Regions from separate parts of the Homo sapiens genome. Here regions 2, 3, 4, 5 and 6 are each linked to region 1. The links are contacts of gene promoters, found by promoter capture Hi-C in blood cells and fetal thymus (Javierre and others, 2016). All regions are on one chromosome and are shown on one strand. The core of a region is centred on a gene start or on the middle of the fragment in contact, and the rest is flanking DNA. Distances in the headings are between cores, read along the strand shown. Region 1 holds the start of ASMTL-AS1 (ASMTL antisense RNA 1). Region 2 has its middle 24 kb from the start of LINC00102. Region 3 holds the start of LINC00102 (long intergenic non-protein coding RNA 102). Region 4 overlaps LINC03112 (long intergenic non-protein coding RNA 3112). Region 5 has its middle 24 kb from the start of ZBED1. Region 6 holds the start of DHRSX (dehydrogenase/reductase X-linked).

What was found. The method cuts DNA at HindIII sites, captures the fragments that hold promoters and counts their contacts. A CHiCAGO score of 5 or more calls a contact.
Region 2: a contact is called between a fragment that was not itself captured here and the fragment with the promoter of ASMTL-AS1 in region 1, in 1 of 17 cell types (naive CD8 T cells). The highest score is 5.6, in naive CD8 T cells.
Region 3: a fragment that was not itself captured here is called in contact with the fragment with the promoter of ASMTL-AS1 in region 1 in 2 of 17 cell types (naive CD4 T cells and total B cells); the score reaches 6.0 in naive CD4 T cells.
Region 4: a fragment that was not itself captured here is called in contact with the fragment with the promoter of ASMTL-AS1 in region 1 in 3 of 17 cell types (activated CD4 T cells, total CD4 T cells and naive CD4 T cells); the score reaches 7.9 in activated CD4 T cells.
Region 5: a contact is called between a fragment that was not itself captured here and the fragment with the promoter of ASMTL-AS1 in region 1, in 1 of 17 cell types (total B cells). The highest score is 6.3, in total B cells.
Region 6: the fragment with the promoter of DHRSX here is called in contact with the fragment with the promoter of ASMTL-AS1 in region 1 in 6 of 17 cell types (naive CD8 T cells, total B cells, activated CD4 T cells and 3 more); the score reaches 13.5 in naive CD8 T cells.

What each region holds. Positions count from the first base shown.
Region 1 is chrX:1,398,918-1,402,164 of GRCh38, reverse strand. ASMTL-AS1 (ASMTL antisense RNA 1) reads right to left here and starts at 1,634. Exons shown (of 6, transcript NR_026711.1): 1 at 1,579-1,634; 2 at 1-703. LINC00106 (long intergenic non-protein coding RNA 106) reads right to left here. Exons shown (of 3, transcript NR_130733.1): 2 at 3,207-3,247; 3 at 2,753-2,798. The HindIII fragment of the contact is 21,745 bases long and covers 1-3,247 here.
Region 2 is chrX:2,637,269-2,640,515 of GRCh38, reverse strand. It overlaps the pseudogene CD99P1. Among named protein-coding and RNA genes, the nearest start is that of LINC00102, 24 kb to the right of the region's middle. The HindIII fragment of the contact is 6,491 bases long and covers 1-3,247 here.
Region 3 is chrX:2,613,853-2,617,099 of GRCh38, reverse strand. It overlaps LINC00102 (long intergenic non-protein coding RNA 102), which reads left to right and starts at 1,753. Exons shown (of 2, transcript NR_037842.1): 1 at 1,753-2,383. It also overlaps the pseudogene CD99P1. The HindIII fragment of the contact is 2,699 bases long and covers 138-2,836 here.
Region 4 is chrX:2,594,363-2,597,609 of GRCh38, reverse strand. The region is part of intron 1 of LINC03112 (long intergenic non-protein coding RNA 3112); the gene reads left to right. Among named protein-coding and RNA genes, the nearest start is that of LINC03112, 13 kb to the left of the region's middle. The HindIII fragment of the contact is 2,296 bases long and covers 455-2,750 here.
Region 5 is chrX:2,523,518-2,526,764 of GRCh38, reverse strand. No RefSeq gene overlaps it. Among named protein-coding and RNA genes, the nearest start is that of ZBED1, 24 kb to the right of the region's middle. The HindIII fragment of the contact is 8,308 bases long and covers 1-3,247 here.
Region 6 is chrX:2,499,171-2,502,417 of GRCh38, reverse strand. It overlaps DHRSX (dehydrogenase/reductase X-linked), which reads left to right and starts at 1,442. Exons shown (of 7, transcript NM_145177.3): 1 at 1,442-1,601. The coding sequence starts at 1,493. ZBED1 (zinc finger BED-type containing 1) reads left to right here and starts at 1,442. Exons shown (of 2, transcript NM_001171136.2): 1 at 1,442-1,601. The HindIII fragment of the contact is 4,150 bases long and covers 1-3,247 here.

The sequences.
Region 1 (3,247 bases), core at 385-2,884:
TCCGCACTCCAGCCTGCATCTTCCCATCTTCTGCACGATTTCCAGTGTGTTTCCTCCATGGGGCGCCATCGCTGCCGCTCACCCCTGGATGCCCACAGGCTATGGAGTGGCAGTTCTCTGGGCGGCTTCCATCTCTCCTGCCTTGGTGCAGAGACTGTCACGAGCGGGACCTCCCCAGCCCCTGCTGCGGGGCTGAAATGCGTCTGTAAACACCCCCCACCCCGAGCCCAGGCAGGCCAGACTCACACCCACCCCGTGAGGCCCTCCTGGGCACATGCTCACTGCGGTTGTAGGGAGCTCAGCGCATCCACGTTTCCCCCGTGCTCCGCTCCCAGCTGCTGTTCCCGGCCTGTGTCCCGACCCTCAGACCTCAGTTCACCCTCTGGTGCCCACACAGCCCCCTTTCCTCCCTGGCCCCTCCACCAGGGAATGGCTGGGCCAACCTGGGGCTGGGCTGGGGTGGAGCCCTTTAACTCACAGCCTTGACCTTAGGAGGCACTGAGGTTCAGGAGGCATCTGCAAAGCGAGAACCGGAGCAGGCCTAGGTGCTGTTTTCACGGCGCGTGCACCCAGCTTACCTGTTCCTGGGCTGGGCGTCAGTCTCCTATATTTCAGCTGTTTTCCTTTTTCTGAGACAGACTCTGGAGTTTAGCTCTTCTTACCCAGACTGGAGTACAATAATGCAATCTCGGCTCACTGCAACCTCCGCCTCCTGGGCAGTCTATTTCAAGGTGCAAACTCCGCCTCCTGGGCGGCCTATTTCAAGGTGGAAGCCCCACCTTCTAGGCCTATTTCAAGGTGCAAGCCCCGCCTCCCGGGCGGCCTATTACAAGGTGCAAGCTCCGCCTCCCAGGCGGCCTGTTTCAAGGTGCAACCCCACCTCCCGGGCGGCCTATTTCAAGGGGCAAGCCCTGCCTCCTGGGCGGCCTATATCAAGGTGCGAGCTCTGCCTCCCAGGCAGCCTATTTCAAGGTGCAACCCCGCCTCCTGGGCGGCCTATTTCAAGGGGCAAGCCCCGCCTCCTGGGTGGCCTATTTCAAGGTGCAACCCCGCCTTCTGGGCGGCCTATTTCAAGGTGCAAGCCCCGCCTCCCGGGCGGCCTATTTCAAGGCGCAAGCTCCGCCTCCTAGCCCAATTTCAAGGTGCACCCTCTGCCTCCTGGGCGGCCTATTTCAAGGTGCTCACTGCACAGATGGGAGTGGTTTTCTGCAATGGTCACGGATGATCTCAATAACACCAAAGTCACATGCTGCTCCACCCTTACAGTGGCCTGGTATCACAAAAGAATGTGTAGGTTGCTTTGTGCTTTAAGAAAACAGCTGAAATAGGCTGGGTGCAGTGGCTCACGCCTGTCATCCCAGCACTTTGGGAGGCTGAGGTGGGCGGATCACCTGTGGTCAGGAATTCGAGACCAGCCTGGCCAACAGAGTGAAATCCTGTCTCTACACAAAATACAAACACTAGCCGGGCATAGTGGCAGGAGCCTATAATCCCAGCTACAGGGGGGAGGCTGAGACAGGAGGATGGCTTGAACCCAGTAGGTGGAGGTTGCAGTGAGCCGAGATTGTGCCACTGCACTCCAGCCTGGGCGACAGAGTGAGACTCCGTCTAAATAAATAAATAAAAGAAAACAAAACTGATCTCTATATATTTTATGTAATATAAATTATGTGTTCCATAAATTCTGTAAATTATGTGTTCTATCCGTGTACAGGCACGTGTGTAGAGGTGTGAGTGTTCAGGTGTGTATACATACACATACACACCCATCTGTGCGCACACACACACACACACACACACAGTCACGTGTGTCACTGAATGACAGGGACCTGTTTCGGGAAATGCATCCTTAGGCAATTCTCTTTGTGTGCCCATCACGGGGTGCACTCACACATACCGCCGTGGCACATACAGCCTGCTACTCACCTGGGCTGTGCGGCAGGGCCCCAGGCTCCCGGGCTACAAACCTGGACAGCAGGTGAGTGTGCCCAGTGCTGCAGGCTGCTGTAATACAATGGTAGGGATTTGTGTGTCTACAAATAAAGGCACACGAAAACTACTGTATTACCATCTCCTGGGACCTCCGCTGTCTAGGAAGGCCGTTGTTGACTGAAGGGTTGTTACCTGGCACAGGTGACTGTGTATAATTCTGGACAGACTCCGTTTTTTTTTTGGTCTGTTTTTTTCTTTTTTGAGACAGAATCTCACTCTGTTGCCCAGGCTGGAGTGCAATGGCACGATCTTGGCTCACTACAACCTCCACCTCCCGGGATCAAGTAGTTATCCTGTCTCAGCCTCCTGAGTAGCTGGGATTACAGGCACCCACCACCATGCCCGCCTAATTTTTGTGTTTTTAGTAGAGATGGGGTTTCACCATGTTGGCCAGGTTGGTCTGGAACTCCCGACCTCAGGTAATCCGCCCACCTTGGCCTCCCAAAGTGCTGGGATTACAGGCACGCACCACCAAACCCAGCTAATTTTTGTATTTTTAGTAGAGACGGGGTTTCACCATGTTGGCCAGGGTGGTCTAGAACTCCTAACCTCAGGTGATCCGCCCACCTCGGCCTCCCACAGTGCAGGGATTACGGGCATGCGCCACCACACGCGGCTAATTTTTCTATTTTTAGTAGAGACGGGGTTTCACCATGTTGGCCAGGCTGGTCTCGAACTCCTGACCTCAGGTGATCTGCCCACCTCGGCCTCCTAAAGTGCTGGCATTGCAGGCGTGAGCCACCGTGCCCGGCCTGACTCATTTTTTTTTTTTTTTTACAATCACACATGGTGTCTCCATGGGAGGCCTAGATGAAACAAGAAGAAAATTTGGCTTTGATGATGAAAGGGGGAGTCCAGTGCGGTGGCGCATGCCTGTGGCCCTCACCGCGTGGCAATCAAGAAGGATGAGGCTTCCAGGCCCCTCCATCACACTGGCCTCAGCGTGGGGCCAGGCAGGACCTGACAGCCACCAGGAGATGCCACGGAGCCCAGCCCTGCAGAGCAGCCAGGCCTCTGTCCCTCCTACCTCCCTCCTCCCTCCCTTCCCACGTCAGCCTGGCCCGTAACTGTCCCTCCTTCCTCCCTTCCCACATCAGCCTGGCCCAGAGCTGGGGCGACAGCATCCCGGTCACCTCGGGCTGCCCCAGCCAAACTCCTCTGTCCTGTTCTGAGAAAGCAGGCAAAGTCCCTGCCTACAGGGTTCCCCCACGTACCTGCAGGACACCGTCTGTCTTACGGCACGAAGCCCAGGGCC
Region 2 (3,247 bases), core at 419-2,918, 1.2 Mb before region 1:
CAGTTAGGACGGGCACGGTGGCTCACGCATGTAATCGCAGCACTTTGGGAGGCCGAGGGAGGCGGATCACCTGAGGTTGGGAGTTCGAGACCAGCCTGACCAACACGGAGAAACCCCATCTCTACTAAAAATATGAAATTAGCTGGGCATGGTGGTGCATGCCTGTAATCCCAGCTATTCAGGAGGCTGAAGTGGGAGAATCGCTTGAACCCAGGAGGCGGGGGTTGCGGTGAGCCGAGATCACACCATTGCACTCCAGCCTGGGTGACAAGAGCGAAACTCCATCTCAAAAAAAAAAAAAAAACAGAGTTGCAGTCACTCGAATCTTCTGTCCTTAGTTGGTTGCATGTTTCTCCAAGTTACGTGGTTCCGTAGATGTTGAGATGTTTGTGCATCCATGTCCCCTTCGACTTTGGTCCTTTGTTTCTGACAGGGGCTGTATGGTTGACTCCAATGACCAATCATCAAATTTCCATTATGCCAAAGTTGCGTGTGCACGTGTGTGTGTGTAACTCTATGTGAGTATGTACGTGTGTATGTGGGTATCTGTGTGCATGTGCATATCCCTGTGTATGTGTGTTTGTGTATATGTGTTTGTGTATGTGTGTAGGTGTAAGTATGCATGTATGTTTGGTATGTATGTACATGTGTATCTGTGTATGTATGTGTGTATGTATTTGTGTGCATGTGTGTATATCTCTGTATGTGTTTGTGTATGTGTGTGTATAGGTGTAAGTATGAATGTATGTTTGGTATGTATGAATATGCATATCTGTGTGTACGTGTGTATATCTGCAGGCTTGTGGATATGTGTGCATGCATGTGTTATGTGTGTATATGTGTATGCACATATCTGTGTATGTTTGTATGTATACCTGTGCATGTATGTTATGTATGTGTATATCTGTATGGTTTCTGTGCATAGGTATATGTGTCTATGTGTGTGTGTCCGCATACATGTGAATGTGTGTCTGTGTATGTGTCTATATTTGTGCATGTATGTGTTTATCTGTGTATACATGTGCATGTATGTATCTGTACGGATGTAACTGTGTATATGCACGTGTATGTGTGGTATATGTGAATGTGATTGTGTATACACAAGGCTTTAAAACTTAGTGCAATAGAACCTTTGTGAAGAACCATGGGGAAACAATTGTGCTTCCTATTGGTACCAGAGAGAAAGAGGAAGAACATTTTATAAAACTCTCTTTTGTTAGTTTTCATCGTATAATGGTAGGAAGAAATATGGCATGAAGGACAGTTTTGTACATGCTGCAGTAATTTCTACCCACCCAGGAGAAACCTGGGACCACATAAATCTCAAAGATAACCAAGGAAATATCTGACTCATATTTTAGACACTGACCAAAGAAGAAAACCTTAACAATTTTATAAGCTCTTCAATGCATCTCTAGTGTATATTAATGGTTTTTATGCTTATATGCCTGATAACAAAAACTATCGTAAGAGACTGCAAAAATCTCACCCTTGCAAAGAAAAATACTTCCACGAGGACATCTGCCCAAAAACTGGCTGTCCAAACTCAGACTGGTGTCACCATGTTATTGATCTTTTTAGCCAAGGATAATCATTTGAAAAGAATTATGGAATCCTCTTCATTATTTCCTTTAAAATCCTTTTTTCCCCTTTACCTCCCTGAATATGAACACAGTTTAATATGGCACATCTATTCTCAGCGCACTACTATACTCCCAAATAAACATCTTTTCTATTACAGAGTGTATTAGTCAGTCCTTACGCTGCTATAAAGAAATACCTGAGACAGGGTAATTTTATAAAGAAAAAGAGGTTTAAATTGGCTCACGGTTCCACAGGCAGTACAGGAAGCACGGCTGGGGAGGCCTCAGGAAATTTACAATCATGGCGGAAGGCAGAGGGGAAACAGGCACATCTTACATGGCCACAGCAGGAGCAGGACGGGGTGGGGAAGTTGTTGCACCCTTTAAACAACCAGATTGGATGATAACTCACTTCCGCCACAACAGCACCATGGGGGACAGTGGTAAACCATTCAATGGAAACCACCCGCATAATGCAGTCACCTCCCACCAGGCGCCACCTCCAAACCGGGGATTCCAACTCAACCTAAGATGTGGTGGGGAACCAGATCCAAACCATCTCTTTGTTGACACCAATACTTAGGTTGACACCAATACTCTGTATCTGTTTCATCCAATTTTATTCTTTTTCATAAAAGCAATGCAGTAAAGATAAAACTAAATGTGGACCCTGGGAACAAGGAGTCCAGAGGTTGCCCAAAGAGTCGCAAAGTGCATCAGGAAACCTGAATGTGAAGATCGGTGACCGAGAGCCTGATGCCAGCCTCCTCTTGGGTCTTGACTGAAATCTTCCCAGGTTGCTATTGGATTTTGCATGTACGAGCCTCCATCAGAGGATAGACTTAGGCATATGGTTTGCCCAGTGAATTGAAGAATCTCCAGAGTTTATGAATTGAAGAGTGGGATGAATACAATACACAGAGCACCGAAGCAAACACATCAGAATCGAGGCAACTCCCCTGGGAGAAAAAATGGAAACCTTGAGCTGAATAGTTCAAAACAGGTTGTCACAAACTGGGCATCTTGGGGACCTTTTACCCCCAAGAACTGGAATCTGGAAAGATCTCTGCCTGTTTACCATGATTTATTTTTCCTGGGAGGTATAAATTCCCAGTGCCCTCCCCTCTATCGTACTGTGGAGGGTATTAGCTCAGTTTTTCAATGTTTAAACAGGTAGCACCAAAAAGCGTCTTCTCAATGCTTCCCACGCTATTCCACGTGGACGTTTGGCTTACAGTTTACTTGCATTTTACCCACTTTTTATCTGTCATCTAATATGTCAATCAATTGCCTATTAATCATCTCTCTCTCAAAATATCTTCTATCATTCATATATCTATATACCCATTTCTATCATTGATCTATCTCTGTGTATATTTATCTATCCATGTCTTCATCTATCTACCCACCTACCCTGTCTATGTACCTATGTATGTATTGGCTCTATCTATATCATGTATCTAGCCATTTATTCATTTATCCACCCATCCTGTATATATATCCATATATCTATCAGGTCTAATCTATGTATCTATATATCTATCTAATCTCTATCATCTATCAATCAATCATGTATCTAGCCATTTATTCATTTACCTACCAATCAATCAATCATGTATCTAGCCATTTATTCATTTATCTACCAATCCATCAATCCATCAATC
Region 3 (3,247 bases), core at 238-2,737, 1.2 Mb before region 1:
TTCTTTTTCCCAAGAAGGAAGAGAGACAGTGATAAAATGGTTCTGTTAAAAGGAAAAATGTGTTACACAAAGGTGGAAACTCACACAAACCTAAGACAACATAAAAAAGAAAAATTCAAGCCTTGCTTATAAAAGCTTCTGTTCAAAATGTTTTCAGAGGCAACAATAAAGTGGAAACACATTTTCATAATATATTGGGCAATGTTTACTGTCTATAAATAATTCAAAAATGACTAGAAATCAGGGAGGACATACCAGAATAGAAGAATAAAAGACACAGTATCCCATACACAGAAGAAGAAGTCTCCATGGCCCACTGATGCATTGTTTTTGTTTCAAGTTTCAGAATTAAAGACGTGAAACTAAGACAAGGTTAGCATGACATTTTGCACTACTGGATAAAGATGTTTTGGTGAACACCAATATCGGAGACGGTGTGAGGAAAGGGTCATCTGCACACCCCGCCGCCATCAAAATAAATTGGTGCAATTCTGGGGCAATTTCAAAACCATGTCAGAAGCTACAAAAGTACTCACACACATCGATGTAAACAACTTGCACTCTAGAAATATATCTTCAAACATAAAGGAAAGTGCATGAAGGGCAGTCAAATTTGCTTTGTAATTGATAATTCCAAAACATCAGAAGAAACATAACTTCAGAATTAGGGATTACTTAAAGAAACCAAAGTATGTAATTAAGTCTGTAGTATAATAATGTAAAGTCGTATGATACAAACGATTAAATGACATGAGAAAATGGTCAAGGAATATTCTTATGCCAATAATAACATAACCAGCAAAAAACCATAAAAATGTCAACAGGATTTAGACCATCTGGATAGATTTCTGTGTTAAAAATTAAACAAACATGTAAAGAAAAACACTCAGTAAAAATCTAATTGTTTAAAACAAGTTGGCTTCTCCATGGGAAACACACAGATTCTTTTCCTCATATCAAGTCTACATCTAAAAGCTCTTATTCAATGATTTGGAAGTTCCATTTATCTTTGAAGTAAAATCAAGAAAAGGAAAATAAAATCCAAACCAAAAACATATTTTCGTAATCTAGGTTTTCCACTACTTGAACACTGGAATTACCTTGTAATTCAACAGTAGGAACAGGCTCACCTGAAATCTCCTCTTCTCAGATGACACGGACATCACTGCCAGGTAAACAACATAGAGACCACCCCGTAGGGTTAGAGGCTCTTATCAGTGAAACCAGGTCAGTTGGGATTTGGATCTGGCTTTGGTTTGGGGGGATTAGGTGGTGCTGGGTCACCTGTTTGTAAAACATGAGAGTTGGCGATCATCAGTGCCTTGCAGTCAAGAAAATGAAAAATCAATTTCCATGGCGACCAGAAAAGGAAATGAAAAATCAATTTGCATAGAGACCTTTCACTAAACAGGTAAAAAATGACCCTTGTTTTTGTCGTGGTGGGGATGCCCATACACATAGCCTCCTGCCAATTCCCTTCCATCATCTTCCAGCTACAGGATTTAACTTCAAGTATTTTCAAAGAAAACTAAGCCAGGTGTCCAGACCACCTCCAGAATTTGAGAGGCCCTGCACAAAATGAAAATGCAAGATTCTGTTCCAATTTTATGACGAATTTCAAGATGGCAGCTACTGAGTAATACACCAATATGGTGCCCTTGTATGCACAGGTCCCTGTGTGACATCACATGTCACATGCCCATGAAGTCTGACCTGGCCAGGGAAGTGACATTTGCCTTATATCATTCCAAAGTCTGTAACAATTTTAAAATAAAAGCCAGCATATTGGTGGGAAAAAAAACAAAAATCCAACAACAACAAAAATAAAACACAACAAGGCATATACTTCCAATATTTCCACTGTATAAACCCAATCCATGGATTATGCAAAAGAGATAAGTCTCTTGGAAATGACAGTCATTTGGTGACAATAACAAATCAGCAACAGAGGAGACTTTAACGAGTTACTCACTGTTTCCTCCCTCACCAAAGGCATCTGCTAAGTCAAAGTCTGCCCCTAAAGGAAGGAATCGGTCTGTTCATAGTAAAGCTCTGAGAAATGAGGAAGGAATGACCTCGGAAACAGATGGAGAAATCACCAGAGACCCACATGACTAAAGACTTTTCTGAATATCACACTGACTAGGATCTCATTTGAAAAAGTAAATTCCTGATCATTTTCACATCATTCTTCCCCCAGATGAAAAGAGTAAGAGATGACAGCAAGAGAAAGAGGGAGAGAGAAAGAATGTCATTTGTAAATCAACTGTGCTGCCTGGACCCAGTTGGGACTCTGAATCTGCCTGCACACAACTCTGTCCCGTTGATTCCCCATTATCTCCTCCCAGGTCCCCAACACCTTCAGCAAGGCAGACCGTAAGAGGTAGGGCAGGTGACTGTGATCTGATCTGTGACTGACGGATTCTGATCTGTGTCTGAAAAGTGGCTCTACCCACCCAGCTGGGCTCCACAAACTAATGTGACATTCATGCTAGTTTCAAAGCCAGCCTTCTAGTTCTTTTTTTTTTTTTTTTTCATATGGAGTTTTGTCCTTTTGCCTGGCTGGAGTGCAGTGGTGTGATCTCGGCTCACTGCAACCTCTGCCTCCCGGGTTCAAGCCATTCTCCTGCCTCAGCCTCCCGAGTAGCTGGGATTACAGGCATGCACCACCATGCCAGGATAATTTTTGTATTTTTAGCAGAGGCAGGGTTTCTCCATGTTGGTCAGGCTGGTCTTGAACTCCTGACCTCAAGTGATCCAGCCGCCTTGGCCTCCTAAGGTGCTGGGATTACAGGTGTGAGCCACCTTACCTGGCCCAGCCTTCTAGTTCCAAGCTTTTCAAATCCCAATTAAGGTCGAGGCACATTTTATATTGGGAGTGATAAGGGAGGCTCAAATGAAAGAAACATGAGGGGCTACATCAAAATGAATCTTTTTTTCAAAACCATATTAAAATACACAAGCAATGAATAAAAAGCACATGATTTTTCACATACATTGTATAGAAATAAGAAATCTCATGGTATGAGAACCTATGTGTTCAGAAAAAAAGTATACTAGAAGAGAAAGACACTTATTGAAATGACTTATTTTATTTAAAGGTGAATCTCTTTGGGTTTTTGTCCTAATGTCTGGAAAAAAAGTTGTCTACCATATTTACAACTCTACATATTAAAAGTTGTCCTGAGTCTTCTAGCAAAGGCCATAGAACTAAATTACAAATAAACTGTAAAGAGAACGTATAAAT
Region 4 (3,247 bases), core at 353-2,852, 1.2 Mb before region 1:
TCCTGCTCCTGTTCTAACCATGTAAGATGCACCTGCTTGCCCTTTGCCTTCTGCCATAATTGTAAGTTTCCTGAGGCTTCCCCAGTCAGGCTTCCTGTCCAGCCTGCAGAACTGTGAGCCGATTAAACCTCTCTTCTTTATCAATTACCCATTCTCAGGTATTTCTTTATAGCAGTACAAGAAGAGCCGAATACACCACCCATTGAGCAGATTGGAAGTGCAAGAAAACTAGCATATGCCCCCATCCTGGAAGCAACCTCAGCCAACACATGTTGGGAAACGACAGAAAAAGACCCCGGCCTTCCTCACTCTTCCGGTGGGATGACCCTGAGTCTCCAAGCTCTCATTGCAGTCACTGGCCTGATAATATCTTCCACTCTCTGTCTTCACTCCCTCTCCCCTCCCACTGCTCCCTGGGACTCACCCCCGCCCACCCTCCCCAAACACAAAAGCTTTGCGGTAAAATCACGGTCTCAAGGTCTGCTTTGGGGAGAAAAGAGTCACCTCCTTGAAATCTAGACTTTCTGTGCTTCCAGAAAACATGTTGAAACGTTACCTGTCAATTAAATTCCGGGAAGCCTGGGTGTGTCACACTTTGAATCATGTGGACAGACACCATGAAGAGCCTGGAGTTTGGTGAACTTTGTTGAAACCCCTCCATCACTCTCGTGGTCGAATCCAATCCAATCCTCATGTCCTCATGAGTTCGTTTTCATTTCCTAAATGACATCCATGGAAAAATAATGGGGAGAGAGGAAACACAATTTTACATTTGTATCTGACAGGCTCTGAAAGGGAGCTAGAGAATGTAGTTAGCATCCATAAATTATGGAAGAGGGTATTTCCCATCTTCTTAACACATGCAACACTTCTAAGGGGCCTGCAAAAACCCCAGCAGCCTTTCAATGTCCCCCACATCTTAGCACACATAAATATTTACATCTGTCCTATCAAGAAACAAATATGCATGCATATCATTATTTTGGAGATATAGCGTGAGCACTTTGTTTGCAAGAAAAAAATATGCATGCATATCATTTTGGAGATATAGTGTGAGCACTTATATTTGTTTGCAAGAAACAAATATGCATGTATATCATTATTTTTGGAGATACAGTGAATGCACTTTTCAGTTACATGCTCAAAATGGTATGCTAAACTGAAAGTGGTTGTCATTACCCTTAATTTCTGCAAGGAATAAACAAGTATGTCCTGGTGGCACATTGCTATGAATAAAGCAGACTATTTCAGGGCTATGGGAGTTCTATGGAAAGCGTGAGCCAAAACATGGTTTTTCCTGTGTCTTGTTTATGATGCTTATTCATAATGGGAGGGAACAGAATATTGGCTTCATTCATGTCCTTGATTTATGATGGAATCCATAGGAATCTGCCACCTTGGGTGAATGAGCAATACCTAAAGGAATGTCCTATAAGATACCGAGATATGCCACCCAAAATATGACTTAGGAGACCAAGATACGCCACCCAAAATATGACTTAGGAGACCAAGATTGCGATTTTTATAAAAAGCTCATCAGCAATCATTAGGGTTAGTGGGCTTTTTTGGTTTTTTTTTTGTTTTTGTTTTTGTTTGTTTGTTTGAGACAGAGTCTCACTCTCTGTCACCCAGGCTGGAGTGCAGTGACATGATTTTGGCTCACTGCACACTACAACCTCCATCTCCCAGGCTAAACCAATTCTCGTGCCCCAGCCTCCCGAGTAGCTGGGAGTACAGGTGTGCACCACCGCACCTGGCTAATTTTTGCATTTTCCTTTTAGTAGAGATGGGGTTTCACCGTGTTGACCAGGCTGGTCTCAAACTCCAGGCCTCCAGGAATCCACCTGCCTTGGCCACCCAATGTGTTGGGATTACGGGAAGGAGCCACTGCACCTGGCCAGTGTATGTTTGTAAGGCTCACCCACACTGTAGCATGTGTCAGCACTTGAAACCTTTTTCTGCCTGAATCACATTCCACTGTATGGATATGCCATATTTTGTTAAATCCGTTCATTGGCTGAGGGACGTTTGGGTCACCTTCACTTTTTGGCTATTTTGAGTAGTGCAGCTATCAACATTACGTGTATAAATGTACAAGCTATTTGGTGGACACGTGTTCTCGTTTTTCTCTTGAGTATGTGCCCAGAAGCAGAATTGCTGGCTCATAGGGTGATGTGGTTTGGCTGTGTCCCCACCCAAATCTCATCTTGAATTCCCATGTGTTGTGGGAGGTAATTGAATCATGGGGACAGGTCTTTCCCATGCTGTACTCATGGTAGTGAATAAGTCTCATGAGATCTGATGATTTTATAAAAGGGAGTTTTCCTGCACAAGCTCTCTCTTTGCCTGCTACCATCCATGTAAGACGTGACTTGCTTCTCCTTGCCTTCTGCCATGATTGTGAGGCCTCCCCAGCCACATGGAACTATAAGTTCATTAAACCTCTCTTTCTTCTGTTAGTTGCCCAATTTTGGGTATGTCTTTATCAGCAGTGTGAAAACAAACTACTACATATGGTATGTCTTCGGTTAACCTTTTGAGGAAACATCAGACTCTTCCATCTCTGTATCTTTCCAATTTCAATCTAAACGGACTCAAATCTGACTCTTAGACTCCACTCCCCTGGGAAATGTGATGTCGGCTATTATTGCGGTTCCCTCTCCTCCCTAGAGTCTCCTAAGAATTTGGGTCATGCTCCATTTTCAGACAATTTGAAAATTGGTCTGTTATGGTCTCTGCTCTGAAAAGCTTCATTCTCATCCCACCTCCTGCCCCGGCTTCCAGCAGCCTCCCTTAAAATTCTGGGGATGCAGACATCTGTGCTGAGGCTGAGAAGCCAGGAGCCTGGAGACCAGCGTCCCTGGGCAGGTGCAGTGGAACCAGCTGGCCATGTGCCAAAATTCCTGTGACCCTTCCCTGGTACTGTGCTGTCTTTGCTGAGAGCTGGCCGCCTGCTCAGGGGTCCCTAAGTCTTACACTGGACAACTGGATGAGTGAGAAATAATTATTTAATTGTTAAGCCACAGAAATTCCAGGGCTCATGTGTTACAGCCAGTCATTTCTCATGAACTAATACAGTAGATGGCTTGGATCAACCCCCTCTGATGGGATGCTGCTTCTCTTCTCGGTTGGTGGAAAAAGAATTTCCATCAGTCTCTCTCTCCTTGTCTCTCTCTCTCTCTCTTTATTCCTTTTCCTTTCTGTCTCCATCTCCCTCTCCCTGACTCTTCTGGCCCCTCCCTACCAT
Region 5 (3,247 bases), core at 431-2,930, 1.1 Mb before region 1:
ACACTCTGCTGATAAAGACATACCTGAGGAGACCCGATAATTGATCATGAAAAGAGGTTTAATGGACTCGCAGTTCCACGTGACGGGGAGGCCTCACAGTCATGGTGGAAGGCGAAAGGCACATCTTACATGGTGGAGGCAAGAGAAAATGAGAGCCAAGTGAAGGGGGTTTCCCCTTATAAAACCATCAGTTCTCTTGAGACTCATTCACTACCACAAGAGCAGTATCGGGGAAACCGCCCTCATGATTCAGTTATCTCCCACCTGGTCCCTCCCACACCACGTGGGAAATACGGGAGCTACAATTCAGATGAGATTTGGGTGGGGACAGTCAAACCATATCACCAACATTCTTCCGTGCCCTTAAATTCCAGAGGATTCCTCCAATATGTGTCTATTTTTCCCAAGTCAAGTCTAAACACACTACCTCTAAGGCAAACCTTCACCTAACTAGGCTTAACTCAACAGCTTAACTTTGTTGACATATGTATTTATGGATTTCTAGAAAAAAATTTTTAAAGGAATTTTGTTGTCGTTGTGGTAAAATAACACTATGGAAGGTAACCCAGGCATGGATATGTGATGAAATATAAGAAAAAAATAACTCTATCACCCAGGCTGGGTGCAGTGGCTCATGCCTATAACCCCAGTGCTTTGGGAGGCCAAGGTGGGAAGATTGCTTGAGCCCAGGAGTTCAAGACCAGCCTGGGCAACATAGTGAGAACCCCCAGCTCTACAAAAAATAAAAAAATTTAGCTGAGTATGGTGAGTGCTTGTCTATAGTTCCAGCCACTCAGGAGGCCGAGATGGAAAGACAAACTGACCCCAGGGGTTTGAGGCTGCAGTAAGGTGTGAGTGTGCCACTGCACTCCAGCCTGGGTGATAGAGCAAGACCCTGTCGAGAAGGAAGGAAGGGAGGGAGGGAGGGAAGAAAGAAGGAAAGAGAGGGTGAGAGAGAGAGAGGAAGGGAGGAAGAGAGTGAGGAAAAAGGAAAGGGGAGGAGAGGAGAGGAAATGGGAGGGAAGCGAAGACTAACCTACAATGTCTGGGGGAATAACAGACACACTGTGTGTAAGATGCCAATAAAAGTGCTAAATACCACATTTTTCATGGGAAAATAATTATTAGAGTAATTCCACCAATTTTAAAGTGAAGCGTTGACATGTATCGCACATCACAAAAATCACATTTAGTATTTATTGAACACTTACTGCATACAATCATTATGGTTGATATTTCACAGAATATCACTTACGTAATTTCAAAAACCTCACGTTTACAATGTTATCTCCGTGTCAGGGAGGATGACACAGGACCCAAGAGGATCAAAAATATGCAGATTCCCCAGAAACTCATGCTGGAAAGATTGCATTTTTATTATGATGATTGTATTCATTTCTTTTAAATAATGATATTTGAATGCAGTGATATTTTAAACACTGGGTGATCTGTGATGCTTCTCCTATAAACTTGTTTCACAGAAAACCAGCTTACCCAGGTATAGGCTCAGTTTTTAGAGTATTGCAGTCAGCACAGTTTCTGAAGACAGAATCAATCTGGGACACTTCTGCATTGAATAAAAGATGAACTGACATGTCGCCTCTGCTATCAGAGTCTCCTTGGGCGAAATAGTGAATCAGGGCATGTTGAACGAACATAGGTCTTTTGGGGCTCTGTAATGCTGCCTGCTGCTATAATATTTACAGATTCTCATGCATAGAGTTAGAAGAGATTGAGGAGATCGTTGGAGGGTTTTTGTTTGTTTGTTTTTTGTTTTTGTTTTTGTTTTGACACAGAGTCTTGCTTTGTCTCTAGGCTGGAGTACAACGGCACGATCTCAGCTGACTACAATCTCCACCTCCGGATTCAAGCGATTCTCCTGCCTCAGCCTCCCGAGTAGCTGGGACTACAGGTACACACCACCACACATGGCTAATTTTTGTATTTTTAGTAGAGATGGGGTTTCACCTTGTTGGCCAGGCTGGTCTCAAACTCCTGACCTCAGGTGATCCACCTGCCTCAGCCTCCCAAAGTGCTGGGATTACAGGGCATGAACCACTGTGCCCGGCCCTTTGAGGGGTTTTTAATCTGTAGTTTATTGAGAGGAACTTGAATCTTAATCTTGATTCTTTAACAGAGTGCAATTTGACATTTAATGTCGATTTAAGTTACATTTTTTGTTTCAGAATGATTTCAGATTTGCAGAAAAGTTTCAAACATACCACAAGGAGCTCTTTTATACCCCCGTCATAAACATCTTCAATTAGTACGGTGCATTTGTGGCAATTAACCAACCACTCTTGATACATTACTATTAACCAGCCCATACCCTATTCAGATTTCTTTAGTTTTTTTCTAATGTTTAGGATCCCATCCAGGGTCTGTCAGTCAAGAAAATTAGAAGACAATTGTCAATCATTTTAGGAAGTTTATTTGCCAAAGTTAAGGATGCGCACCTGTGACACAGCCTCATGGGGTCCTGATGACATGTGCCCTAGGTGGTCGGGGCACAGCTTGGTTTTATACATTTTAGGCACACATGAGCCATCAATCAATATATGTAAGAAGTCCATTGGTTCCTTCCAGAAAGGCGGGGACAACTGGAAGCAGAGAGGGAGCTTCCAGGTCACAGGTAGGTGGGAAACATATGGTTGCTTCTTTTGAGTTTCTGATTAGCCTCTCCAAAGGAGGCAATTAGAATATGCGTCTATCTCAGTAAGCAGAGGGGTGACCTTGAATAAAATGAGAGGCCGATTTGCCCTGGGCACTTCCCAGCTTGTCGGGGCCCGGGTTAGTTTCCTTTCACAGGCCCCACAGTTCCACAGGGTGTTTAGTTATTACTTCTACCTGGGTTCCCTCTTGGCTGGGACAGTTTTCCAGACGTTTCTTGATTCAGATGAATGACCTGGACAGCTTTGAAAAGCACTGGGCAAGCCTTTTGACGGAAGTCCTTTTATTGGGATTTTTCTCATGTTTTCTTTCTTTTTCTTTGAGATGGAGTCTCACTCTGTCGCCTAGGTTGGAGTGCAGTGGCGCAGTCTCGGCTGACTGCAACCTCTGCCTCCCGCGTTCACGCCATTCTCCTGCCTCAGCCTCCTGAGTAGCTGGGACTACAGGTGCCCGCCACCATGCCCACAGCTGATTTTTTTAATTTTAATTTTTTAATTATTACAGGAGTGAGCCACCGCCCCTGGCCTTTTCTGATGTTTTCTTCATGATTAGATGGGGTTTGGGGGCCGGGCGTGGG
Region 6 (3,247 bases), core at 193-2,692, 1.1 Mb before region 1:
TGCAGGGTTGTTGGGGGCAGGGAAGTGGAGGGGTAGGTTTGGTGGGTGGTGTCTGTGGCCTGGCAGGAATTGGGGTGGGGTCTGTGGTCTCAGTAGGAACTGGGGTGTGGGGTCCGTGCTTGGGGCAGGTTCTGTGGTGTCAGCAGGAACTGGGGTGTGGGGTCCGTGCTTGGGGCAGGTTCTGTGGTGTCAGTACGAATTAGGGTGTGGGGTCCATGGTCCTTACAGCTGTTCAGAGTCCTCTGTGGGAGTCCTGGTCCATAATCCTGGCATGGCTCTGGGTGGTTGTCTGGGGTTCCCTATGGGGTCCAAGTCCTTGTGGTCCCTGCTGAGGTCTGCGTGGGGTTACATGATTCTGGCTAAGATGGGGAGGGTGGTTCCCGTGGTGGTCCTGGTCCCCTGCAGGGTCTGGGTAGGGGATCTGTGATCCCATGGTGGGGGTCCTGGCTGGGGCTTGAATGGGGTTCCATGGTCTTGGCTGGAGTGTGGGGTCTTGGAGAGGCAGTCCAGCTGGGGTCTGTAGTCCTGGGGGGCGTCCTGGCAGGGGTCTGTGGTCTTGTGGGGTGCTGGCTGGGGCCTGTGGTCCGGGGGGTGGTTGTGATGGAGGTGGAGGTCCTAGAAGGGGGCCCCAGTAGGGGTCTGTGATCCTGGAGAGGGGTCCTGGTGGTGGGGGTCCCAGTGGAGGTCTGTGGTCCTGGGGGGCCCTGGGAGGATCTGTGGTACTGGGGAGTCCTGGTGGAGGTCTGTAGTCCTGGTGGGGTTCTTGGTGGGGTGTCTGGGCGTGCCCCAGTGGGGGGGCCTGTGGTCTTGGGGGTCCCAGCAGGGGTCTGGGGTCCTGGGGGGTGTTCTTGGGAGGAGTCTATGGATCTGACTTGGGTGCTGGCTGGGGTCTGTAGTCCTGGGGGCGTCCTGGCTGGGGCTGTTGGTCTTGTGGTGGTGGGGATCCCTGCTGGGGTCTGCAGTCCTGCCGGGAGGGGGAAGGGTCCCTGCTGGGGTCTGTGGTCCTGGAGGAGGTGTGGAGGGTCCCTGCTGGGGTCTGTGGTCCTGGGGGGGATTCCTGGCTGGGGTCTGTGGTCCTGGCTGGGGGTGTGTGTGGGGGGTCCCTGCTGGGGTCTGTGGTCCTGAAGGGGGGGTCCTGACTGGGGTCAGTGGTCCTGGGGGCGTCCTGGCTGGGGTCTGTGGTCCTGGGGGGGGGGGTCCTGGCTGAAGTCTATGGTCCTTGCAGGGGGGGGTTCCTGGCTGGAGTCTGTGGTCCTGGGGGGGGTGTCCTGGCTGGGGTCGGTTGTCCGCTCGGGGTCCCCAGTCCTGCAGGCGGTGCGGGATCCCAGAGGGCCCGGGCGGGGTCTGGGGTTGGGGGTTCCCCGCAGGCCGGGGCGGTTCGGGGCGGGCAGGGGGCGGTCCGGGGCGCGCGCGTTTCCGCCGTCCGTCCGGGCGGGCGGGCGCAGAGTCCCGCGGGCGGCGCGGAAGCGGCGGCGGCGCGGCCGGGGCAGCCATGTCGCCATTGTCTGCGGCGCGGGCGGCCCTGCGGGTCTACGCGGTAGGCGCCGCGGTGATCCTGGCGCAGCTGCTGCGGCGCTGCCGCGGGGGCTTCCTGGAGCCAGGTCAGCGGGGCGGGGCAGGGGTCAGGGCTCCGGGGACCCGGGTGGGCGCGGGCTGGCTCGGGGGCGGGGGCGCGGGGGCTCCGCGTGACCTTGGCGAGGCGGTGGCGCTCCCGGAAGTGGGGCTGGGCGGGGGTCGAGGTGTGGCCGGGGGTGGGGGGGGGGCGGCGTGCGCGCTGGGACCTCCCCGCCCCGCGCTTTCCGTCCCCGCCGGCTCTTCTGCGCGCCTGGCCCGGCCCGACCCGGCCCGACCCTTCCCTCCCCGCGCGTGTGGCCTCCCCGCCTGTCCCGGGTCGGGCTCCAACCAAGCAGCCCCCGTGCAGCCGCCCCCCCGCGCACCCTGACACCTCCGGGCCATGGCCGGGGACCCGGGGGCTCGCACGCCCCGCGCCCAAGACATCAGGCGGCTCTGCCTGCCGCCTGCGGTCGGCCAGTGACCGCGCGCCCCCGCCAGGCCCCGGAGGGGAGGAGCGGGCGTCCCAGGGACCTCGACCCCTACCCACCCCAGGGTAAGTGAGGATGGGCCCTTCTCCGGAGGACGTCTCCAGAGGGGGCCCAGAGGCGGCTTCTCGGGCACTGGGGAGCCACGGAGGTCTGGTGGGGAGGGCAGGCCCGTTAAGTGGCAACTTTGTTTCCTTGGCCTTTGTAAACATCTCTGAGTCACAGATCTCCAACTTTGCAGGACTCGTTCACTGTCTGAACTCATCAGTGATGACCGCCACTGTGTTTTGTGTATGCAGATAACTTCTGTTCCTAGATTTGCAGGTTCAGAATTTATTATTATTATTATTTTTTGTAATAGGAAGTAGAGATGAAGTCTTGCTCTGTTGCCGAGGCTACTCTCGAACTCCTGGGCTCAAGCAGTCCTCCTGCCTCAGCCTCCCAAAGTGCTGGCATTACAGGCACCAGCTACTGCATCCGACTAATGTTTTAAAGTTTTGTAGACGGGGTCTTGCTATGTTGCTCAGGCTGGTCTCGAACTCCTGGGCTCAAGCGATCTTCCTTCCTTTGCCTCCCAAACTGTTGGGATTACAGGTGTGAGCCACCACACCTGTCTAATGTTTTAATTTTTTTGTGTAGCAATAGGGTCTTGCTACGTTGCCCAGGCTGGTCTGAAACTCATGGGCCGAAGCAATCCTCCTACCTGGGTCCCCCAAAGTGCTGGGTTTACAGGCGTGAGCCACCACGCCTGGCTAATGTTTTAAATTTTTTGTAGAGATGGCATCTCACCATGTTGCCCAGGCTGGTCTTGAACCCCTGGCCTGCAGCAATCCTCCAGTCTGGGCCTCCCAAACTGCTGGGATTACAGACAGAGCGCCACTGTGCCCAGCCCATATTCTCAATTTAAACCTAGAAACCTGTAAACAATTATTTGTGAACTGGAATAAAGGGAATGTTAATTCCATGTTAGGTTAAATGATACTTTGTTTCAAAAATAACAGTTTTCCAAAACAGAGCGTTCAGAGGGTCAGTGTGGTGGGGGTGGGGGTGTACGTTGCCCTGAATGTCTTAAATGTCCAGCCTAAGAAGAGAGCTGTTATTTCTGCCTCTGTAGACAGTTTCATGGCATGTCAGGAGGCCTCTGGAAGACACTACTGCACGCCTCTGGGAGACTGGGAGTCAGCCAGGCGAAGCGCTTGGGTGCCTTA